4 separate regions of the Homo sapiens genome follow, and all the other regions are linked to region 4. Evidence: promoter capture Hi-C in human tissues and cell types (Jung and others, 2019). All regions are on one chromosome and are shown on one strand. Each heading gives the region's core, a stretch centred on a gene start or on the middle of the fragment in contact. The rest is flanking DNA. Distances are from core to core; before and after follow the strand shown.

What was found. The method cuts DNA at HindIII sites, captures the fragments that hold promoters and counts their contacts. A contact is called where the count stands out against the background at its distance.
Region 1: a fragment that was not itself captured here is called in contact with the fragment with the promoter of FAM177A1 in region 4 in 1 of the 25 tissues and cell types used here (heart right ventricle).
Region 2: a fragment that was not itself captured here is called in contact with the fragment with the promoter of FAM177A1 in region 4 in 1 of the 25 tissues and cell types used here (lymphoblastoid cells).
Region 3: a contact is called between a fragment that was not itself captured here and the fragment with the promoter of FAM177A1 in region 4, in 1 of the 25 tissues and cell types used here (lymphoblastoid cells).

The regions. Positions count from the first base shown.
Region 1 is chr14:35,333,579-35,338,870 of GRCh38, reverse strand. No RefSeq gene overlaps it. Among named protein-coding and RNA genes, the nearest start is that of PSMA6, 44 kb to the right of the region's middle. RefSeq lists enhancers at 1,801-2,322, 5,207-5,292. The HindIII fragment of the contact is 5,959 bases long and covers 769-5,292 here.
Region 2 is chr14:35,431,148-35,436,704 of GRCh38, reverse strand. It overlaps the pseudogene DNAJC8P1. Among named protein-coding and RNA genes, the nearest start is that of NFKBIA, 29 kb to the right of the region's middle. The HindIII fragment of the contact is 3,060 bases long and covers 2,122-5,181 here.
Region 3 is chr14:34,582,407-34,587,368 of GRCh38, reverse strand. It overlaps SNX6 (sorting nexin 6), which reads left to right. Exons shown (of 14, transcript NM_152233.4): 9 at 1,064-1,139. Among named protein-coding and RNA genes, the nearest start is that of EAPP, 45 kb to the right of the region's middle. The HindIII fragment of the contact is 6,294 bases long and covers 1-4,962 here.
Region 4 is chr14:35,042,140-35,047,521 of GRCh38, reverse strand. FAM177A1 (family with sequence similarity 177 member A1) reads right to left here and starts at 1,250. Exons shown (of 5, transcript NM_173607.5): 1 at 894-1,250. The coding sequence starts at 1,058. RefSeq lists enhancers at 381-440, 541-810, 1,531-1,730 and a silencer at 1,061-1,410. The HindIII fragment of the contact is 5,057 bases long and covers 702-5,382 here.

The DNA.
Region 1 (5,292 bases), core at 2,499-4,998, 290 kb before region 4:
GACAAGGTTAGAAGGGGCTGCGCTGCCTGGTGGGAGACAGGTCCACAGGCCCAGCCCCAGAGCCCTAAACCCTCCCTGTAAGACCCACATAGCCAACCACAGTGAATAAATTAGTTGGATAATGCCATCCACCAGGAGGCAAATACTACTTTTATTTATTTACTGTTTTTTTATTTTTATTTTTTATTTTTTTGAGACAGTCTTATTCTGTCGCCCAGGCTGGAGTGCAGTGGCACGATCTCAGCTCACTGCAACCTCTGCCTCCCGGGTTCACGCCATTCTCCTGCCTCAGCCTCCTGAGTAGCTGGGATTACAGGTGCGAGCCACCACGCCCGGCTAATTTTTGCATTTTTAGCAGAGACAAGGTTTTGCCATATTGGCCAGGCTGGTCTCAAACTCCTGACCTCAGGTGATCCACCTGCCTCAGCCTCCCAAAGTGCTGGGATTACAGGCATGAGCCACTGCACCTGGCCCACATACTACTTTTAAATCATAAGGCAATGTTACTTTGATTTGCTTCTTATTAGGCCATAACCTTTGTTTGGTCTATGTCCTTTCTGAGGCCTCAAGGGGACTTCTGAGCCCCCCTTTTATGGGTGCAAAGAAGCTCTGAAACTTGGAGTTTGGATTTGGGTGAGAATGTGGGTCAACTGTGCTGGATTTCACAAAGCGAAGGCTGTGTATGACACAAGAAGCCCTGTGCAACAGGGCAAGACTCCATGGTCATTGAACTGCACACAGACCTGGTTTTGAATCACCACCTACCATTGGTGTGACCTCGGGCAAGTCACCAATATCTCTGAGTCTCAGAATCCCATCTGTTGGGCAAGAAAACATCCACCTCATAGGATTGCTATTGAGAGTCAAGGAGGTAGTGTTCAAGCACCTCCGAGGGCCTGGTACCTGGTAGCAGCTTGGTGTGTGCCCCTCCCACCTCTCCTTCATTAGGAGCAGGAGCCCTGGAATTCCATTCCTCTCCTGAGTAGTCACGGCCTGACCTCAGGAGGCAGCAGCAGCAAGAAAGGAAGGGAGGCAAGAGCAAGTGATGTTCTCCCCAGACCCTCAGCCCAGGGACACGAGGGCTGTGCTGGGCTGAGAGGGTTTTGCATCAGGCTGGTCTGTTCCCTCCCTAGCCCACTTGCGTTCTCCTCTGGAGATGGCCTGGGGGGACCCAACTGCAGAGCATTCAGGTGGGGCCCTGGCACTAGCCACAGGGGTGGGGGTGCTGCATTTAGCCTTTCTCTGGCCACAAGCTCCTTGTTCAAGGGTCTCAGGCCACCTTGACTGTGGGTCTCTGTGGGGCCTGGCCTGCAGAAGGCCACACGGCACCTGTGCATCCCTGCATTGGTCACCACCTAGGACTGTGGCACGCAGAAGTGTTATCCATGGGCCTTCACTTTCTGCTCCAGACACGGCAGGGAGTTGAAGTTCGAGAAACAGATAAACAAATGCCAAACATGAGCATAAACTTTAATATATTCAGACTGTTTTAGATATTAAATAGAAAAAAGACCTTGGTGCCTTTGAGGGTCCTGTGTGGCCTTTCCCTAGGTGGAGCTGGTTCCCTTAGAGGTAAAACCAGGAACTTTCTCTTGCAGCTTATGAGAGGGTGACGAGGGTGCGGCTTATCCTTTGTCCTCATGGCTGGAAAAGGGACCCTGACGGGCACAGGGCCTGCCTCGCCCTCCCTCCTCAGGTCTTGGGGAGACAGAGACTGCAGGTTGCCTGGGCGGCCCCAGGAACAGATTTGCATTATTTTGTGGCAACAAGCAAATTTCCTGGAGGGGATTTCTGGAAGAACTGGGAGCCACCCAGCGGGAAAGCTTTAGGAAACAGGAGAGCAGGAGGCCGGGAGGAGACAGGCCTGGGCAGAGGCGGAGGCTGCTTGGCCTGAGGCTCTGGGCCAAGGGATGGTTGAGGCCTCGAACCCCTCCTCCACCCTTCCTCACAGCAGGCAGGAAGCCAGGCCCTGAGCAGGCTCAGGCGCTGCCTCCGCGCCCTCGCTGACCTGCAGGAAACTCGCCCAACCCAGGCCTATGTCAGCAGCAGGACGATGACCTAAGAAGCCAGGCTGCAGAGCAAGATGGAAAATTCCCAACGCTCCTGCACCTAAGGCTGCACCCGGGGGGGCAATATTATGCTCCTCTGGCCCTGACTGCATGGGGGAGGGCTGCCCCCGTTCTGGGCTGGCGGCTCAGTCAGGGGCTGGGACAAGAGCAAACCAAACAGCTTCAAGGGGAGGGAAACGGAGCCCCAGCCCTTGACCTTCCACTTGGTTCGTGCGTTGCTGGACCCGGCGTAACTGCGGCTGTGTGGGTGTGTGTGTTGGGCAGGGATGGGGTGGCGATTACAAAACAGAGGACGGCAGGCGTACTTTCTGCATAGAAAGAACACTCAACAGCCCTCCAACACAGGCTGAGAATCTGAAAAAGTCAGGCCATGTCGGCTTAAAGAAATCAAGCTGCATATCCACCAGCATATCAAGATTTTAAATTTAAGAACTATGGGTCAGGTAGAGTGGTTCATGCCTGTAATCCCAGCATTTTGGGAGGCCGAGGTGGGTGGATCACCTGAGGTCAGGAATTCAAGACCAGCCTGGCCAACATGGTGAAACCCTGTCTCTACTAAAAATACAAAAAATTAGCTGGACATGGTGGCAGGAGCCTGTAATCGCAGATACTTGGGAGGCTGAGGCAGGAGAATGGCTTGAACCCAGGAGGCAGAGGTTGCAGTGAGCTGAGATCGCGGCATTTCACTCCAGCCTGGGTGAAAGAGCGAAACTCCATCTCAAAAAAACAAGAAAACAAAAAACTATGACAGCTCAGATGCGTACATTCTAAAGTTCATCCGAACCTGGTTAATGCAGTGCTTGGCTGGCCTGGAGCCTTAGGGAAGAATATCCACGAGGCACCTGCTGTATGCTGAGCAGGTTCGCATGGAGTCCCTCTCGTTCAGTCCTTGGTTGGTGAGGGCCGCATCACAGGACAGGCTCAGCGCAGCACAAACCGAAAGAGAAATGCTTCGGACCAATGTCCTTTCTCAGTTTCTCCCGGGAAGGCCGGCTGGAGCAGGCTATTTCCAAGGCCCTGGAAATACAGGTGTTTTCCCTTCAGTCATCTCCAGAGCAGGAGCCTCCTATGTCTCAGGAAGATAAGAAGGATCCAGATGCCAGGAGGAGTGACCTCTGGACACTTGGCTGGGAGCCCAGGAGCCCTGATGCCAGGCCCAGGAAGGCCTCCCCACCCCTCTGGGGCCTAGTCAGGGGAAGGAAGGAACCAAGGAAGGGAGGGAGGGAGGAAGGAAGACACATGGGATAGGATTTCCAGACCCAAGGCCGGCAATCCTCCTGGTTCCAATCACCGGATAGGCAAGCTGGTTTGTAGTTTTCCATAGGTGACAAAAGCCAAAGGAAGGTTGCAAAATCCCTCCTGCACCAGTAGGCTTCAAGAGGTTACACTCTCAATAAGAATGTGAAATGGTAGATTCAATAAAATCTAGTGTATGATAACATAATAATTTATGTACATCTTAAAATAACTGGAATAGTGGGCCGGGTGGCTCACGCTTGTAATCCTAGCACTTTGGGAGGCTGAGGCGGGCAGATCACGAGGTCAAGAGATTGAGACCATCCTGGCCAACATGGTGAAACCCCATCTCTACTAAAAAAAATACAAAACTTAGCTGGGTGTGCTGGCGCGTGCCTGTAGTCCCAGCTACTCAGGAGGCCAAGGCAGGAGAATTGCTTGAACCCGGGAGGCAGAGGTTGTAGTGAGCCGAGATGGCGCCACTGCACTCCAGCCTGGCCAGTCTGGGCAAGAGCAAAACTCTGGCCAGGTGTGGTGGCTCACACCTGTAATCCCAGCACTTTGGGAGGCCAAGGCAGGTGGATCACGAGGTCAGGAGATCGAGGCCATCCTGGCTAACACGGTGAAACCCTGTGTCTCTACTAAAAATACAAAAAAATTAGCCGGGCGTGGTGGCGGGCGCCTGTAGTCCCAGTTACTCAGGAGGCTGAGGCAGGAGAATGGTGTGAACCCGGGAGGCGGAGCTTGCAGTGAGCCGAGATCGTGCCACTGCACTCCAGCCTGGGTGACAGAGCAAGACTCTGTCTCAAAAAAAAAAAAAGCGAAACTCTTTTCTACAGAAAGCCTGGGCTTTCTGTAGGGGCTGACTCACTTCAGGGCCCCCTGGCATGGCCTAAAGCTGTAGAGGGGAGCTGGCAGCCCCAGAAGGGCTTCATTTCCCAATCTCTCCTCCCCTTTCTCCTGGCCCCCTGGGCATCTCCACCTCTGCCCCTACCTCCCAAGCAAGCCTTGACTCACATACTCCTGAGTGGCAGCCTCTGGCCTCTCTCCATCTGTGCCACCCCCTCCTAGGACACTGGGGTGAGGAAGCCCTGGGAGGCAGGCTCTGGGTGCAGGTCAGAGGCCTCCCTGTCTGTGCTGGGGTCCAGCTGAGCCAGGGCCACTGAGCCCTTGAGGGCTCTGCAGGCCTCGGGATGGGAAGGGAAGGTGTGGGAGATGACCCTGAGCCCGGGGCGCCCCTTGGAGCTCCCAGAGGCTGTTTTGGCTCCTGGCAGGGTCAGAGCAGCTTGGTGCCATCGTGTGTGCTCCTCCAGGAGGAGAAGGCTCTAGACAGGGCAGGACTTGCCCTAAAGGCCAGGGACCCCCATAGGGAAAAGCTGCCGCCTATGGGTGTCACGAGGAAATGAGCGCCCAGGAAGAACATGGTCACCCTGAAAGAAGTAGGACGTTGTCTCCCTGGCTGAACCACAAGCCTTGCGCGGGTGACGCAGGGCCTCACCTGCTCTGCCCTGGCTGAAGAGAGACATTTGTAAACTTCAGGCTGGCTTCTGCCTGCCTGACCACACTGCTTGGGTGACAATGTTCGCAGGAAATCACATTTTGGTAGTGACTGGTCAGGATGCTGGGGAAACTTAACAGCACTAGAGAGCCGTTCTGGAAGGGCGCTGCCATACTCTGCTGCCACAGCGTAGCTGGTGTCTTCTCTGCACTTTAAATGCATTGTGTCATTTTTTCCTCATAGCACTTCTTTGAGATGGATCCTGTGGTTTATACCCCTTTTTTTCAGAAGAGAAAAACTGAGGCTGTAAATAACTCAGCTGTGGACTGAGAATTCAGTCAGGCTCTGACTGTGGGGAAGCTGGAAGTCCCAGCACTTGATTCTGGCGGCTGGAAGCCTGGGGCTGCGAGTGCCCCTTTCCGCACCCCTGTAGTCAGGGCTCTTGTCTCCTGGCTTTGGTGCTAGGATGCAGCCACCTGGAGCTGTTGG
Region 2 (5,557 bases), core at 2,402-4,901, 390 kb before region 4:
CAGTGGCTCATACCTGTAATCCCAGCACTTTGGGAGGACGAGGCAGGTGGATTCCTTGAGTCAAGACCAGCCTGGGTGACATGGGTGACATGGACAAACCCCATCTCTAAAAAAAAAAAGAAAAAAAAAAAACCCAGAATAACGCAACTGTCCATTAATTGAAGTTGTTTAAATAACTATGGTGCTTATAATGAAATGCTATAGAGCTATGAAATAGAATGTGACATATCTTCACGTAGAAGGTTGCATTAAGTAAGAAAGTAAGATGCCAAGCTGTATGAATAGGGTATGGTGGTGTTTATGGGGTGACAAAAATATTCTGGAATTAAATAGTGGTAATTGGTTGCATAACATTGTGGCTATACTAAAAGACACTGAATTGTACAGTTTAAAATGGCTAAAATGATAAATTTTATGTTGTATAGATTTTACTTCAAGTTTTAAAAAACAGTATGAATAACATGATCCCATTTTTGTGTGAAAAAAATATTTTTAGTATGTACATAGAAAAAAACCTAGAGAGAAATACACTAAGTAATTGGCAGTGATTATCTCTGAGTGTGATAGACACAGTATATTGTTAATAACCATGTTGTATATATCTGTAATGTTGGAAATTTTAATAAACAGAGGACTTAGAACTTTCATATCCAGAAAAAAAGATACTAAATCACTTGAAAAGTAGAGAAAGAGGTCTAATTATCTGAGAACAAATAACTGAGCCAGTAAAAAATTCCTTTCAAAGATAACTCAAAATAACTATTTCAGTGGGAATTGCATTATTTCAGAATCATGGGATTGTAAAGGTTTTGTGTGTGTGTACATTTCCTTAATAAAGAAAAAGGAGAACATGTACAAACGCTTCTTCAACGTAGTTAGATGCTAAAATTTAACCTTCATTGAGACTGAAAATGTAAACACTCATTTGTCTAGGAGGAATTGGTTACTAAAGTCTGTGTACCCTGATGCTTCTGTTGCCAACCAAAGCATCTGCTGGGTCCTGACCTTCAGATAATAAAAGTAATTATAAGACTCATGATCAGAAGATTGGGATTCTGGTTCCAGCTAAGCCACTAATTTGCCATGTGAATAGAGCCAAATCCTCTAATCTTACTATACTTCCATTTCTTTCTTTCTAAAAATGGGGAGATGCTACTGAAAGAGATCAGGATATGCCATCCCAAAATATGCCACTTTGGCATAAGGATTATTTTGAGCTGAAGGCAACTGATGGAGGAAAAGGTCTCTGCCCTCCCTTTATCTGCCTAAAAACAGGACATAAATTTTCCTTTGAGGAAGGTACTCCTCTATGCCAGGAAACTGAGAATGACTCATTACCAGAGATGTCACACCAAGATGACTCCTCATAAACAAGCCCTACTAAAATAACCCTTATCTCCCATTAGTTTCCTTCATATATTTCCTAGTCAATTCCCACAATATTTTCCCTTGAAGCCCAAACCCATCTTCTTTTTTTAAGAAGGGTATACAAACTCCAGGTTCTGGCCAGGTGCAGTGGCTCACACCTGTAATCCCAGCACTTTGGGAGGCTGAGGCGGGTGGATTTCAAAAATTAGTGGGGCATGGTGGCACATGCCTGTAGTCCCATCTACTCAGGAGATGGAGACAGGAGAATCACTTGAACCTGGCAGTCAGAGATTATGCCACTGCGCTCCAGCCTGAGCGACAGAGTGAAACACTATCTCAAAAAAAAAAATTCAAGTTCTGAGCACGTCTTTGAGTTTTCACATCATCTCTGTGAAGCTTCCATGCATTTAAAAGTATTAATATCAATAAAAATCATACATTTTTTTCCTGTTAATCTGTCTTTAGTCAGTTAAATTTGCAGGCCTCATTCACTGAAACTAGGTGGGAAGACAAAATATTTTTCATCCTGAAGAGCACTAAATAGAATGGTAACCTTAGGTGCTTACATAAGAAATTGAAAACCCAATCAAAATACTACACTCAGAAAATTCCATTTAGGGCAGTGCATATTATTTTATATAATCTTAAAAGTGTCTGTTATGGCAACTAAGCACAGTGACATGACCAAATGTACATGTTTGTGATGACAGACACTAGACTGTATACTTACATGACATTTTGAAAACCTAGAAGTGAGGCATTTATAAAAGAGTGAAGGCCGGGTGCGGTGGCTCACGCCTGTAATTTCAGCACTTTGGGAGGCCGAGGCGAGCGGATCACTTGAAGTTGGGAGTTTGAGACCAGCCTGGCCAACATGATAAAACCCCATCTCTACTAAAAATTAAAAAAAAAAAAAAAAAATTAGCCAGGTATGCCGGTGGGCACCTGTAATTCCAGCTACTCGGGAGGCTGAGGCAGGAGAATCACTTGAACCCGGGAGGCAGAGGTTGCAGTGAGTCAAGATCGCACCACTGCACTCCAGCGACAGAGTGAGACTTCGTATCAAAAAAATAAAAATGAAAAAAAAAAAAATGAAAAGCAGGGCCAAGCTTAGGGCCCAGATCTCCTTCCCACCACTTCCTTCCAAAATGTTGGCCTGTGATACTCACAGCTACAACTTCTCTTTAATACCTAGATATAAATCTCATTCAATAAAAACAATTAGCAGAAGAGAGAACATTCAACAGTTGCAATTACCTAAATGTCCCTCCGGTAACCATTTGAATGACTAAATCCTCTACATTGATTGTTTCAGTGAATGATAATTAAAACCAAATAACCTCCAGGCTCATTTGATTCTACAGTGACAATACTAAACCTCTAGACATTATATTGCAAAGCCCTGAATTGAGCCAGGCAAAGCAAAACCAAAGTACAAGGAGAATTGAGTGGTGGGTGGAAGGGTGCTGGTGCATACTAGAGAAGAAAGAAGGCAACAGACACCCTTCACAAGCACATTTAACTGTAGATAGGGGAGCCCCGCGACACCACTTCCTAGTCAGGGAGACTCCTTCCAGGCTTTGTATGGGGAATGGTGTAGTTAGATTAATAACGGCTTCCTACTATTTCCTTCATGTTCCATAAACCAACATGCATCTCACTTCTGCCCTCTGAAACATTGCTTCCCTTATTGTTGAATCCTTTACCCAATTCCATAAGGCCTACTGGGAATATTGTTTTGGGCTTAGACATACGATTAAAGACTTTGTGTGGTTTTTTTTAATATAAGGTAAGAATTTTGCCAGACAAATATGGACTAAGATTAGATAGGCCTTGTTTTCCATATTTATAATACAGAGAGGGAGCATCATCCTGATTAAGTTAAAGCAGAGATTGTGCCCTCATCATTGTGCCCTCAGAGGTTAGTGAAGCACACAGTAATTTCACAAAAATACTCTTTGAACTGAACTTAATGCAAAGTATGTTGAACTAAAATCCATGCCTAACAATATTAATGTACAAATTGTACATTAATAAATCATTCCAAAGCACCATGTTTGTTGCAATTTTTAAATACTCAAAATAGCAGGTGGGCAGACTTGATAAATCATTGCTCTATAGTATACGTTAATACCAGGATCTCAGCTTTCCTCTGCAGGACAAGCACTTCTAGGTAGATGTCAAAGTCAAAAGTTTGGGTAGTTCAGCACCTTCTATAATCAATCAGTGAATCAACACTTATAAAGCACTTACTATGTGCTCGGCATTGTTCCAGCCACAAGATTAGAATGGGGAATCTTCTGGGATCCGCTGAAAATATTGGAAGGCTCTTTCCCAGTAAACTACAAATTACCCCCCAAGCCCTATTTTCTTGGAATTTGTACTAAGAATCCCATATCTGCAAGCAATGTACTTTCAAATAGTGCAGTTTTCATAGCCTGCGTGTTGAATGGGACCCACATGTAATGGCATCTATGATGCACTAAAATAGAGAAGGTCACAAGGGGCCAGGTTCAGTAGCTCACGCCTGTAATTCCAGCACTTTGGGAGGCCAAGGCGAGTGGGTCACTTGAGGCCAGCAGTTCAAGACCAGCCTGGGTAACATAGTGAAACCCAGTTTCTACAAAAAGTGAGGTTAAGTCTGCATTGAGCCATGATTGAGCCACTGCACTCCAGTCTGGGTGACAAAGCCTGTCTCAATCAGTCAATCAAAAAGTCACAAAATCCCCAACACTATAAATTAAAAAACTGTAGAAAACACAGTGCTAACTTCTCCCCTATTAATCTTAAAATAAATTTGTTTTTCATTATTGTAAACCTGTTGGATGTTTGATTGTTTTGATTTAAGAGAAAGGGTCTCATTATGTTGCCCAGGCCGAATGCAGTGGTTATTCAAGGGCTCAAACTCCTGGCCTTAAGCAATCCTCCTGCCTCAGCACCCCCCCCACCCCCCACCAAGTAGCTGGGACAACAGGCCACATGGCAAGAGGCTTGAAATTTTTTATTGTTGTTGTTACCATGCACATATTACCCATCACCACTCTCACACCGCGCCCCCAACAACAAATCTGTGCCTAAAATGACACTATTTGAATTTATCTTTTAGTAGACCATCCAGATTCTTTAAAGTTGTCAGGAGCCCTGTCCCTTTAGCAAGCTGGGTCAGAAAAAAGCACTACTATACTTGGATTAATTTTTAAATGTTTAAACACCTAATTGGGAAAAATGAAAATTTAAAGTAATTAGAAGACAATTTAGAAGATTAGAAGATTCTCTATGACATCTGGACACAAACAAGATGAAAAGCATAAAACAAACACACGTATTAAATTAAACTATATTAAAATGTAAAGCTTCGGCCAGGCGTGGTGGCTCACGCCAGTAATCCCAGCACTTTGGGAGGCCGAGGCGCGTAGATCATGAGGTCAAGACGTCTAGACCATCCTGGCCAACATGGTGAAACCCTGCCTCTACTAAAAATACAAAAATTAGCCAGACATGGTGGCATGCACCTGTAGTCCCAGCTACTTGGGAGGCTGAGTCAGGAGAATCGCTTGAACCCTGGAGGTGGAGGTAGCAGTGAGCCAAGATCAAGCCCCTGCACTCCAGCCTGGTGACAGAGCGAGACTCCATCTCAAAAAAAAAAAAAATGTAAAGCTTCTCCAAATTAACGCAGGAACAGAAAACCAAATATGGCATGTTCTCACTTATAAGTGGGAGTTAAACATTAGGAACTCATGGAAATGAAGATGGAAACAATAGATATGGGGACTACTAGAGCGGCGAGGGGGGAATGGAGCAAGAATTAAAAAACTACCTACTGGGTACTATACTCACTATCCGGGGTGACAAGATCATTTGTATTCCACATCTCAACATCAAGCAATGTACGCATGTAACAAACCTGCACGTGTACTCCCTGAATCTAAAATAAAAGCTGAAATTATTAAAAAACAACAAAAAGCAAAGCTTCTCTATGACAATAGTTACCACTTTTTTGGGGGGGTAGTTATAAAAATTTATTATACATAAAGAATATTACTACTAACAAATGCAGACAGGCTAGGACACCATGGTACTGGGAGGAGGACGGCTAGCTCTTTGGAAAGTGAAAGGTTTGGGTGGCGTGGGCCTCATGCCATGCTGATTGGTCAGTAGACAGGGGGCACATGCCAAACACCACAGGGCA
Region 3 (4,962 bases), core at 1,085-3,584, 460 kb after region 4:
AGTAGAGATGGGGTTTCACCGTGTTAGCCAGGATGGTCTCAATCTCCTAACCTCATGATCTGCCCGCCTTGGCCTCCCAAAGTGCTGGGATTACAGGCATGAGCCACCGTGCCCGGCCATGTTATGTTTTTTAAAATTTCAATTTCAAATTGTTCTTTGCTAATACATAGAAACACAGCATATTTTTTTCAATATTGATCTTATATCCTGCAACCTTGCTAAATAAACTCACTTATTAGTTCTAGTAATTATTTTGTAGATTCCTTAGGATTTTTACATAGATGATCATGTCACGTCTATTAATGAAGAAAGTTATACTTCTTATTTTCCAGTTGTTTTTTTTTTTTTTTTTTTTTTTTTGAGACAGAGTCTTGCTCTGTTGCCCAGGCTGGAGTGCAGTGGTGTGATCTCGGCTCACTGCAACCTCCGCCTCCCGGGTTCACGCCATTCTCCTGCCTCAGCCTTTCCAGTAGCTGGGACTACAGGTGCCCACTACCATGCCCGGCTAATATTTTGTATTTTTAGTAGAGACGGGGTTTTACCGTGTTAGCCAGGATGATCCTAATCTCCTGACCTCATGATCCACCTGCCACGGCCTCCCAAAGTGCTGGGATTACAGGCATGAGCTACTGCGCCCGACCTCCAATTTGTTTTTTTGTTTGAGACGGAGTCTTGCTCTGTCACCCAGGCTGGAGTGCGGTGGCGTGATCTTGGCTCACTGCAACCTCTGTGTCCTGGGTTCAGATGATTCTCCTGCCTCAGCCTCCCGAGTAGCTGGGATTACAGGCATGTGCAACCACACCTGGCTGATTTTTTTATTTTTGATAGAGATGGGATTTCACCATGTTGGCCCAGCTGGTCTCAAAACTCCTGACCTCAGGTGATCTGCCTGCCCCAGCCTCCCAAAGTGTTGGGATTACAGGCATGAGCCACCATGCCTGTTGCTTGCGTTATTTTCTTTACTAGAGTGTCTCATATTACACATTGTTTGAGAGGTAATTGCTCAGTAAGTATTTTTAAATCTATGAATAGGTATACTAAATTCTTAAAACTTTCTCCATAGGTGCTGCAGATGATTACAATAGAATTGGTTCTTCATTATATGCTTTAGGAACTCAGGATTCTACAGATATATGCAAGTAAGTGTTCTAATTTAAAACGTGAAATAGGCTGGGCGCGGTGGCTCACGCCTGTAATCCCAGCACTTTGGGAGGCGAAGGTGGGTGGATTAAGAGGTCAGGAGTTCAAGACCAGCCTGACCAACACGGTGAAACCCCGTCTCTACTAAAAATACAAAAATTAGCCAGGCGGGGTGACACACACCTGTAATCCCAGCTACTCAGGAGGCTGAGGCAGGGATTGTTTGAACCTGGGAGGCAGAGGTTGCAGTGAGCTGAGATTCCACCTTTGCACTCCAGCCTGGGCAACAGAGTGAGACTCCATCTCAAAAAAAATAAATAAATAAAACATGAAATATAGCTGGGCACAGTGGCTCATGCCTGTAATCCCAGCACTTTGGGAGGTGGAAAACCTGAGGTCCGGAGTTCAAGACCAACCTGGCCAACATTGCTAAACCCTATCTCTACCAAAAAATACAAAAATTACCCAGGTGTCGGTGGTGTGTGCCTGTAATCCCAGCTAGCTACTCGGGAGGCTGAGGCACAAGAATCACTTGAACCCGGGAGGCGGAGGTTGCAGTGAGCCAAGATCATGCTGCTGCACTCCAGCCTGGTGACAGAGCAAGACTATCTCAAAAAATATATATGAAATATAAATAAAGCAGAGAAAATTTTCTATTGGCAGCCTGGATGCACACAATACTTTTGGTTTTTGTTTTAGTTTTTGTTTTGAAACAGGGTCTTATTCTGTCACCCAGGCTGGAGTGCAGTGGCACGATCATGGCTCTCTGCAACATTCTCCTTCCACGTTCAAGCAGTTCTCCCACCTCAGCTTCCAAAGTAGCTGGGATTACAGGTGCCTGCCACCATGCCTGGCTAATTCTTGTATTTTTAGTAGAGATGGGGTTTCACCATATTGGCCAGGCTGGTCTCAAGCCCTTGACTTCAAGTGGCCTGCCCGACTCAGCCTCCCAAAGTGCTGGGATTACAGCCTGTGAGCCACTTCTCCCGGCCAACAATACTTCTAATACAAAACTTTTGGAATATTTTTGTCAAAACACATTGATAATAAGGACCTCCTTTAAAAACTTGGGTTGAGGGCTGGGCATGGTGGCTCACGCCAGTAATCTCAGCACTTTGAGAGGCCGAGGCGGGCAGAACACCTCAGGTCGGGAGTTTGAGACCAGCCTGACCAACATGGAGAAACCCTGTCTCCACTAAAAATACAAAATTAGCCAAGTGTGGTGGCAGGTGTCTGTAATCCCAGCTACTTGGGAGGCTGAGGCAGGAGAATCGCTTAAACCCAGGAGACGAAGGTTGCGTTGAGCCGAGATCACAGCATTGCACTCCAGCCTGGGCAACAAGAGCAAAATTCCATCTCAGAAAAAAAAAGAAAAAAGAAAAAACTTGGGTTGATATTTTTTCTTCTCCCTTTCTGTCCTATTTTTTAAATCTGAGAAATAAAAATCGACTTTACTCTCTCTCTCTATATATATTTTTTTTTCTTCCTCCCCAACTGTGTTTTATTTATGAAAATGGGCTGATTTGTGTGTAAGAGAGTGGAAGAACCGAATTTATGTTAGAGTGTTCTTAAGTTTTGATAAAGCTTATAAATAAGAACTGCCATTTGGGAATTAGAATATATATATATGTATGTATGTATGTATATGTGTTTATGTATTTCATTGAAGGTGAAATTGATTCTGCCACCCGCCCCCCGGAAGACGGTGTCTTGCTCTGTCACCCAGGCTGGAGTGCAGTGGCGTGTTCTCTAAAAACACAAAAATTAGACATGGTGGTGTACACCTGTAATCCCTGCTACTTGAGAGGCTGAGGCGTGAGAATCACTTGAACCTGGGAGGCAGAGATTGCAGTGAGCCAAGATCACACCACTGCACCCCAGCCTGGGCGACAGAGCAAGACTTGGTTTCAAAAAAACTAAAAATTAAACATATTTTTAAGCAGGAAAACTATTTTCATAGTCTATGCCTTTCTCTAAACCACATCCTTGACCTTTTCTCTAGTGTATTCTGTCTCAGATATTTAAAAGTCACGCTTTTTGGCAAAGCAAGGTATGATAGCTTACACTAATTAAAATGCCACCAGCCGGGCACAGTGGCTCACACCTGTAATCCCAGCACTTTGGGAGGCCAAGGCAGGTGAATCACCTGAGGTCAGGAGTTGGAGACCAGCCTGACCAACATGGAGAAACCCCATCTCTACTAAAAACACAAAATTAGCCTGGCGTGGTGGCGCATGCCTGTAATCCCAGCTACTCAGGAGGCTGAGGCAGGAGAATCGCTTGAACCTGGGAGGCAGAGGTTGCAGTGAGCCGAGATTGCGCCATTGTACTCTAGCCTTGGCAACAAGAGAGAAACTCCGTCTTAAAAAAAAAAAAAAGCCACCTTCCCAAAGAGTTAATTCTTCTTATCAGGAAGAAGGAAAAAAGTCAACCTTGCCATCTGTTCTCTAACGTAAATCTGTCAAAGCAAGTTCTTTTGAGTGAAAGCAAAGTTCGTAAAATTGTTTTTGCTTTGAGTAGTATTTGCCCTAATTCATTTATGATGTCATTTTAATTACATATTTTACAGAATACTTGAACCTGTGCCCTTTTTTGTTTTTTGAGAGTGGATCTTGCTGTGTGGCTCAGGCTGGCATACAGTAGCTATTCGCAGGTGCAGTCATAGAGCACTGCAGCCTTGAACTCCTGTGCTCAAGCAATCCTCTTGCTTCAGCCTCCTGGGTAGCTGGGACCATAGGTTTGTGCCAGAACGGGGTGACAGAATGATAGCCCATCTCAAAAAAAAAAAAAAGAAAAAAATGAATAACCAATTTCTACTTAAGAATTTATTTTCACTTTTAACTAAATAGTTTATCTGTCAAATGCTGATACCAACTAAAAAATATCCCAGCACCAGACTATTTTTTTTGTAGTTGTTCTTGAGACGGAGTCTCGCTCTGTTGCCCAGGCTGGAGTGCAGTGGCTCAGTCTTGGCTCACTGCAAGCTCCACCTCCCGGGTTCACACCATTCTCCTGCCTCAGCCTCCCAAGTAGCTGGGACTACAGGCGCGTGCCACCACGCCAGGCTAATTTTGTTTTGTATTTTTAGTAGAGACAGTGTTTCACCATGTTACCCAGGATGGTCTCGATCTCCTGACCTCATGATCCTCCCACCTCGGCCTCCCAAAGTGCTGGGATTACAGGCATGAGCCACCGCACCCAGCCAAACACCAGACTATTAAAGGGTAGTTTAATTACAGGATTGCACCATCGTGCCCCACTAATTTTTTGTATTTTTAGTAGAGATAGGGTTTCACTGTGTTGCCCAGACTAGTCTCAAACTCCTGGCCTCAAGTGAGCTGCTTGCCTCAGCCTATTTGCTACAATGAATCTAGATAAATTTTGTTGGCTGGGCACAGTGACTCATGCCTGTAATCCCAGCACTTTGGGAGGCCAAGGTGGGCAGATCACTTGAGGCCAGGAGTTTGAGACCAGCCTGGCCAACATGGCGAAACCCCATTTCTACTAAAAATACAAAAATTAGCCAGGCTTGGTGAGCACCTGTAATGCCAGCTACTTAGGAGGCTGAAGCAGGAGAATCGTTTGAACCCAGGAGGTGGAGGTTGCAGTGAGATGGCGCTACTGCACTGCGGCTGGGGCAAGAAAGCGAGATTCAGTCTCAATAACAACAACAACAACAAAAACACGTTTAATGTATGGCTTAGGCTGTCATCTTGAAATGGGGCCCAGCACTCTGGCTCACACCTGTAATCTCAGCAGTTTGGGAGGCCACTGCGGGCAGATCACTTGAGATCAGGAGTCCAAGACGAGCCTGGGCTCAAG
Region 4 (5,382 bases), core at 1-2,500:
CCGCCTTGGCCTCCCAAAGTGTCTTTTTGTCTAATACTGAAAAGTTGCAAGAAACGTTAACTCTCTAAACCAGCGCTGTCCAATACAGTAACCACTAGCCACATGTGGCTAATGCGCACTTGAAATGTGGTCAGCCAGAACTGCGATATGCTATGCGTGTAAAATGCACCCAGGATTTAAAAGACTTAGAAAAGACTCCAAAAGAGAATGCAAATACTTCATTAATAACTTTCATAGTAATTTTAGGTTGAAATTGTTTTGATAAATTAGGTTAAATAAGATATGCTATTAAAATTAATATCGGTTTCACTTTTTTAAAACGTGCCTACTGGAAAATTTTAAATTACAATTTTCAATGCAGCTTGCATTCTATTTATGTTGGACAGCGCAGCTCGGAGCCTTAGTTGCCTCGGCGGTGAAATGGGGCTAACACCCACCTCGAGCGGTTACTGTAAGGATCCAGTGAATTAAAGCTGGTAAACGTTTGGCATATGCCAAGCAAAGGGCAGATGCCCAGGCAGGCGCTCGCACCAGAAGAGACTGAGAAGTGGTTGAAGCCGCCCTCACCTGGCTTCCAGCTACTGCAAGGACAGCCTTTGGGGGACACGCCTTTCTTCTTCCTCTGGTAGACCAGAAGCTGGACTATCACCCCAGGAACCCGAGGCCGCCCCAGAGTCTGCTGTGCTGCCAGCCAAGGGGTTGGTGAGTGAGGCGGGGGGCGCTCCTTCCCACAAGCTGGTCTCAGTGAGCAGAAACAGGGGTGCAGTGAGGAGGAACTCCAAAGCTGGGGCGGCCTGCTCGGAGGACGGCCGCGCAGGCTAAAAGAGCGGCCCGCGGAGAAGGCAAGGAGGCGGCTCGGCTCCCCGGACGTCAGCCTCGGCGGCCCCACCTACCTGCCCTGCAGATTCCCCGAATGCCGCGGCGGCCGCAGCTCCCGAGGCTGCGACGGCTTCTCCTCGTTCCACACCGCCCACTGGCTCCTGGTCCATCGTCGTCGCCACCACAGGGCTGCTGGCGCTGGTGAGAAAGAGGGTAATGGCCGGTAAGCCCACTTCCATCCTTGGTCTCCCCGCCCAGTCGCTGGCCGAGCCAGGCTGTCGGGAAGTGGGACTCACCCGCCCAGCGCCCGCCTCGCGCCGCGCCTAGCCAAGTCTCTGAGAAGGGGACTCGCCGGCCTGAGGGGCGGGGCCAGCCCGCGCCTCGCCTAGCCCGCCGGGCTCCGCACCCCGAGAGCTGGCCAACTGCAGTCTGGGAGGCGCAACTACCGGCTCGCGCGGGGCGGGGCGGGGCGGGGCGGGTCCTTGCGGGGCGTCGCTTCCGGCCAAGCAAGCATCCAGAGCTCGTGGATCCCCGCCTGGCACCGCCTGTGACGTCATTTCTGGTACGTGTACCTGAAGCCTGGCGTCTCGACCTCGGCGCAGCCCGTCACCAGCGGCGTCTGGGGCAGTCACCCCGCAGGACCTCGGTTTTTGCACTTGTAAAATGAAGACAGCTGTGTCGTTGTACTTCAAAGGCTAGTGATGGGATGTGGTTGCTGAAAAATGTAAAATGTACGGCTCGTGCTGCACTTTCCATTCCAAACGTGGGTGACAGTCCAGCCAAAATACCCTCGAAAGAAGAACCCCAGGCGTGATATTTGCTTACTCTTGTCTGAAATACTTAAGTATAACTGTAGAAAGTGTTAAGTGAAAAGACCTGAAGGAGAGCAAAGGGCAGTAGTAAGCTTCCATCTTGACAAATGTAAGGAATGTTTTATCTGTGTCTTAAAGTCGTGTGCGTATGTTAGAGGGGGCGTCCCAGATTTTTTCCGTCTTTCGCAATGTTCAACGAAAGTAAAAAATCATGCAATTACTGCATGACTTCAACATCAAACAAGTCTGAGGTTCTGCAGGTAAATGGTATATTGTTGTTTTAGCATGAAAGTTTTCACAAATATGTAGGGGGCAAAACCAAAACATACATTATTTTGGCTATGGGAGGCTTCATTTGATACTTTAAATTCCATTTTCATACTAGTCTCAATTCAGAAATGCTCCCTAAAGTTGTATGACCTTGTAAATGTTTTTCATCATAGCAACAGCAGGCCCAAATATTAAATATTCCTTTCTCTTCTGTGCCAAAGTTCTTCTCCTTACCCTCTGCCTAATGTTATTGTACACTTCCTATTCTATGTATAACTGGAACCTAAAAACAAAACCAAAAACTTTAAAAAACAAATAATCATTTGAAAACCATCTACGCCTTAAAAACTAGTTGGAAATCCATATTGCTCTCTATCCTGGTAATAAAATCAAGTTAGGTTGCTGCTGAAGTAAACAAGTTAGTACCTGATCTGACTCTGTATGGTGGCATCAGCAGGGAGTTGAGACAGTCCAAAACAGCAAAACCAAACTCGGCCATAAATTGAAAACAAAAATAAAGAACCAATTGTTAAGACTTCATGAATTGGCATTCATAAACAACACAGTTCTGCATTATATGTATTCAAAATCTCTTCCTTCTTACTGGCAAGCAGGGCAATCAACAATCTTTATTACTAAAACTTTGTGGGATATTTATAAATGCATGATTTTATTTTCCAAAGTGGCAATTAAATATCAAATTACAATTTTCTTTTTCTTTTTTTTCTTTTTTTTTTTTTTTGAGATGGGGTCTCACCCACGCTGGAGTGCAATGGCGCAATCTTGGCGCACTGCAACATCCGCCTCCCGGGTTCAAGCGATTCCCCCACCTCAGCCTGCCAAGTAGCTGGGATTACAGTTGTGCACTACCACGCCCGGCTAATTTTTGTATTGTTAGTAGAGACGGGGTTTCACCATGTTGGCCAGGCTAGTATCGAACTTCCGACCTCAGATGATCCACCCACCTCAGCCTCCCAAAGTGCTGGGATTACAGGCGTGAGCCACCACGCCTGGCCTCAAATTACAATTTTCATTGCCGAAGCAGAATATATTTTCACAGTTTACATGTGTATTTCTTAGTTTACTGAAAATTCAAAGTACAAGTTACATTCTAACGTGAACTGGAAGTATTTCCTAAAAAGTTATTTTTAACACAAATATCCAATTGAAGAGCAGTTTATTACAAATCAACAACTCGGGCTGGGCACGGTGGCTCACGCCTGTAATCCCAGCACTTTGGGAGGCGGAGGCGGGTGGATCACGAGGTCAGGAGATCGAGACCATCCTGGCTAACACGGTGAAACCCCGTCTCTACTATAAAATACAAAAAATTAGCCGGGCGTGGTGGCGGGCGCCTGTAGTCCCAGCTACTCGGGAGGCTGGGGCAGGAGAATGGCGTGAACCCGGGAGGCGGAGCTTGCAGTGAGCCGAGACCGCGCCACTGCACTCCAGCCTGGGCGACAGAGCGAGACTCCGTCTCAAAAAAACAAAAACAAAACAAATCAACAACTCAAAGCAACATAAAAGCATAGAAATTCTAATGGTTTTATTTTGGACATTTATATTTTTGTCATTATTTCCAAACTGTTATAGCTCAACCAAAAGTAGGCACCAAGGCAATGTGCCAAATTTTTCCTTCTTTCACTTTGTAACATAAATTGTATCGTAGCACTATGACAAAAATAAATTCAAGTATTATGATAATTTATCTACTTGAAAACATAATGTGGTCTAAATTTATCATTTAATGATACATATAGAGCTAAAAAGGTAAATTTGGATTGAACCATTTCTGCGTAAGGCTGGGAAAATAAATCTGAATAAAATTTGATAACCAGGAATGTTCATCAAATAAACAAGACATTCTTAGGGTTTTAACATAGCTACATATATATACTTTGATAGAGAATTTTTTAAGTTATCCATCAAACAGGACAATATATTTTCATCAAAAATAATGCACAAGAAAAAAAGATGATAAAAATAAAAATGCATTTTAGGTTCAGTCTAAGCATAAAGAAATTTTTTTTTTTTTTTTGAGACAGGGCCTTACTGTATCACCCAGGCTGGAGTGCAGTGGCACAATTATGGCTCACTGCAGACTCAGACGATCCTCCCACCTCAGCCTCCTGAGTAGCTGGCGTGTACCATCACACCTGGCTAATTTTTATATTTTTTGTAGAGATGAGGTTTTGCCATGTTGCCCAGGCTGAATAAGTTATTAAAATCATGGTAGTGGTTTCACTTATGGAGCACAATATGCCAGGTACTTTGCTTTCTTTGTATTAACTCTTATTCCTCACAACAATTCTGAAGTATTACTGTAACTACCAACATGTTATAGATGAGGAAACAAAGAGAAGTTAAGCAACTTGCTCCAGTGACGCAGCTGGTAAGCAGCAGAGCTGGGATTAAAACCCAGGCATTCTGATTCCACCACCTACACACTTAGCCATTCCGCCCCACTGAGAATGAAAATGTCAAAAAATACTAGGCCAGTAAGTGTTAGCAAGGCAAGAAATTTCCACACCAAAGGTGAGTATGTTGTTTGGAAAGATTGGGATGGAAATGAGTAAAGTATGTTTCTTTTTAAAAGTCTTTTAGTAAGCTTTAAAGCTCTATATGTAAGAAGCAGATGAAAATACCAAGTGAATTTTTAGATTTGATGTTATGTAAGGTTTTGTTTTGTTAATTAAAATTTGGTCATTTTGTGTGTGTGTGTGTCTGTGTGTGTGTGTGTGTGTGTGGTGAGAATATACCAGTGATATCCAATCACCAAAATTTTCTTTTTTTTTTTTTTGAGACAGTCTCACTCTGTCAGCCAGGCTGGATTGCAGTGGCGTGCTCTTGGTTTACTGCAGCCTCGATCTCCTAGGCTCAAGTCATCCTCCCACCTCGGGTCCCAAGCTGGGACTACAGGCACACATCACCACACCCAGCTAATTTTTGTATTTTCCCAGAAAGGGGTTTCACTATGTTGGCCAGGCTGGTCTCAAACTCCTGGCCTCAAGTGATCCACCCGCCTCAGCCTTCCAAAGTGCTGGAATTACGGGTGTGAGCCACCATGCCCGGCCTAGAATTTTCTGTATGGTATTAGGCATAAAATAACTAGCTTTCTTTGCACACTATGCTAGACTCAGTAATTTTAATGTTGGAGAGCTGTGCATCTTCATCTAAAATCTGTAGAACCCTGAGTGTCTTCTGATAAGAATCTATAACAAATATAAAGATATAATCCTTTTTTTTTTTAGACAGAGTCTTGCACTGTCACCTGAGCTGGAGTGCAATGGCACGATCTTGGCTCAATGCAACCTCCACCTCCCGGCTTCACGTGATTCTCCTGCCTCAGCTTCCCGAGTAGCTGGGATTACAGGCGCACACCACCACACCCAGCTTATTTTTTGTACTTTTAATAGAGATGGGGTTTCACTATGTTGGCCAGACTGGTCTCGAACTCCTGACCTGGTGATCCTTCCACCTT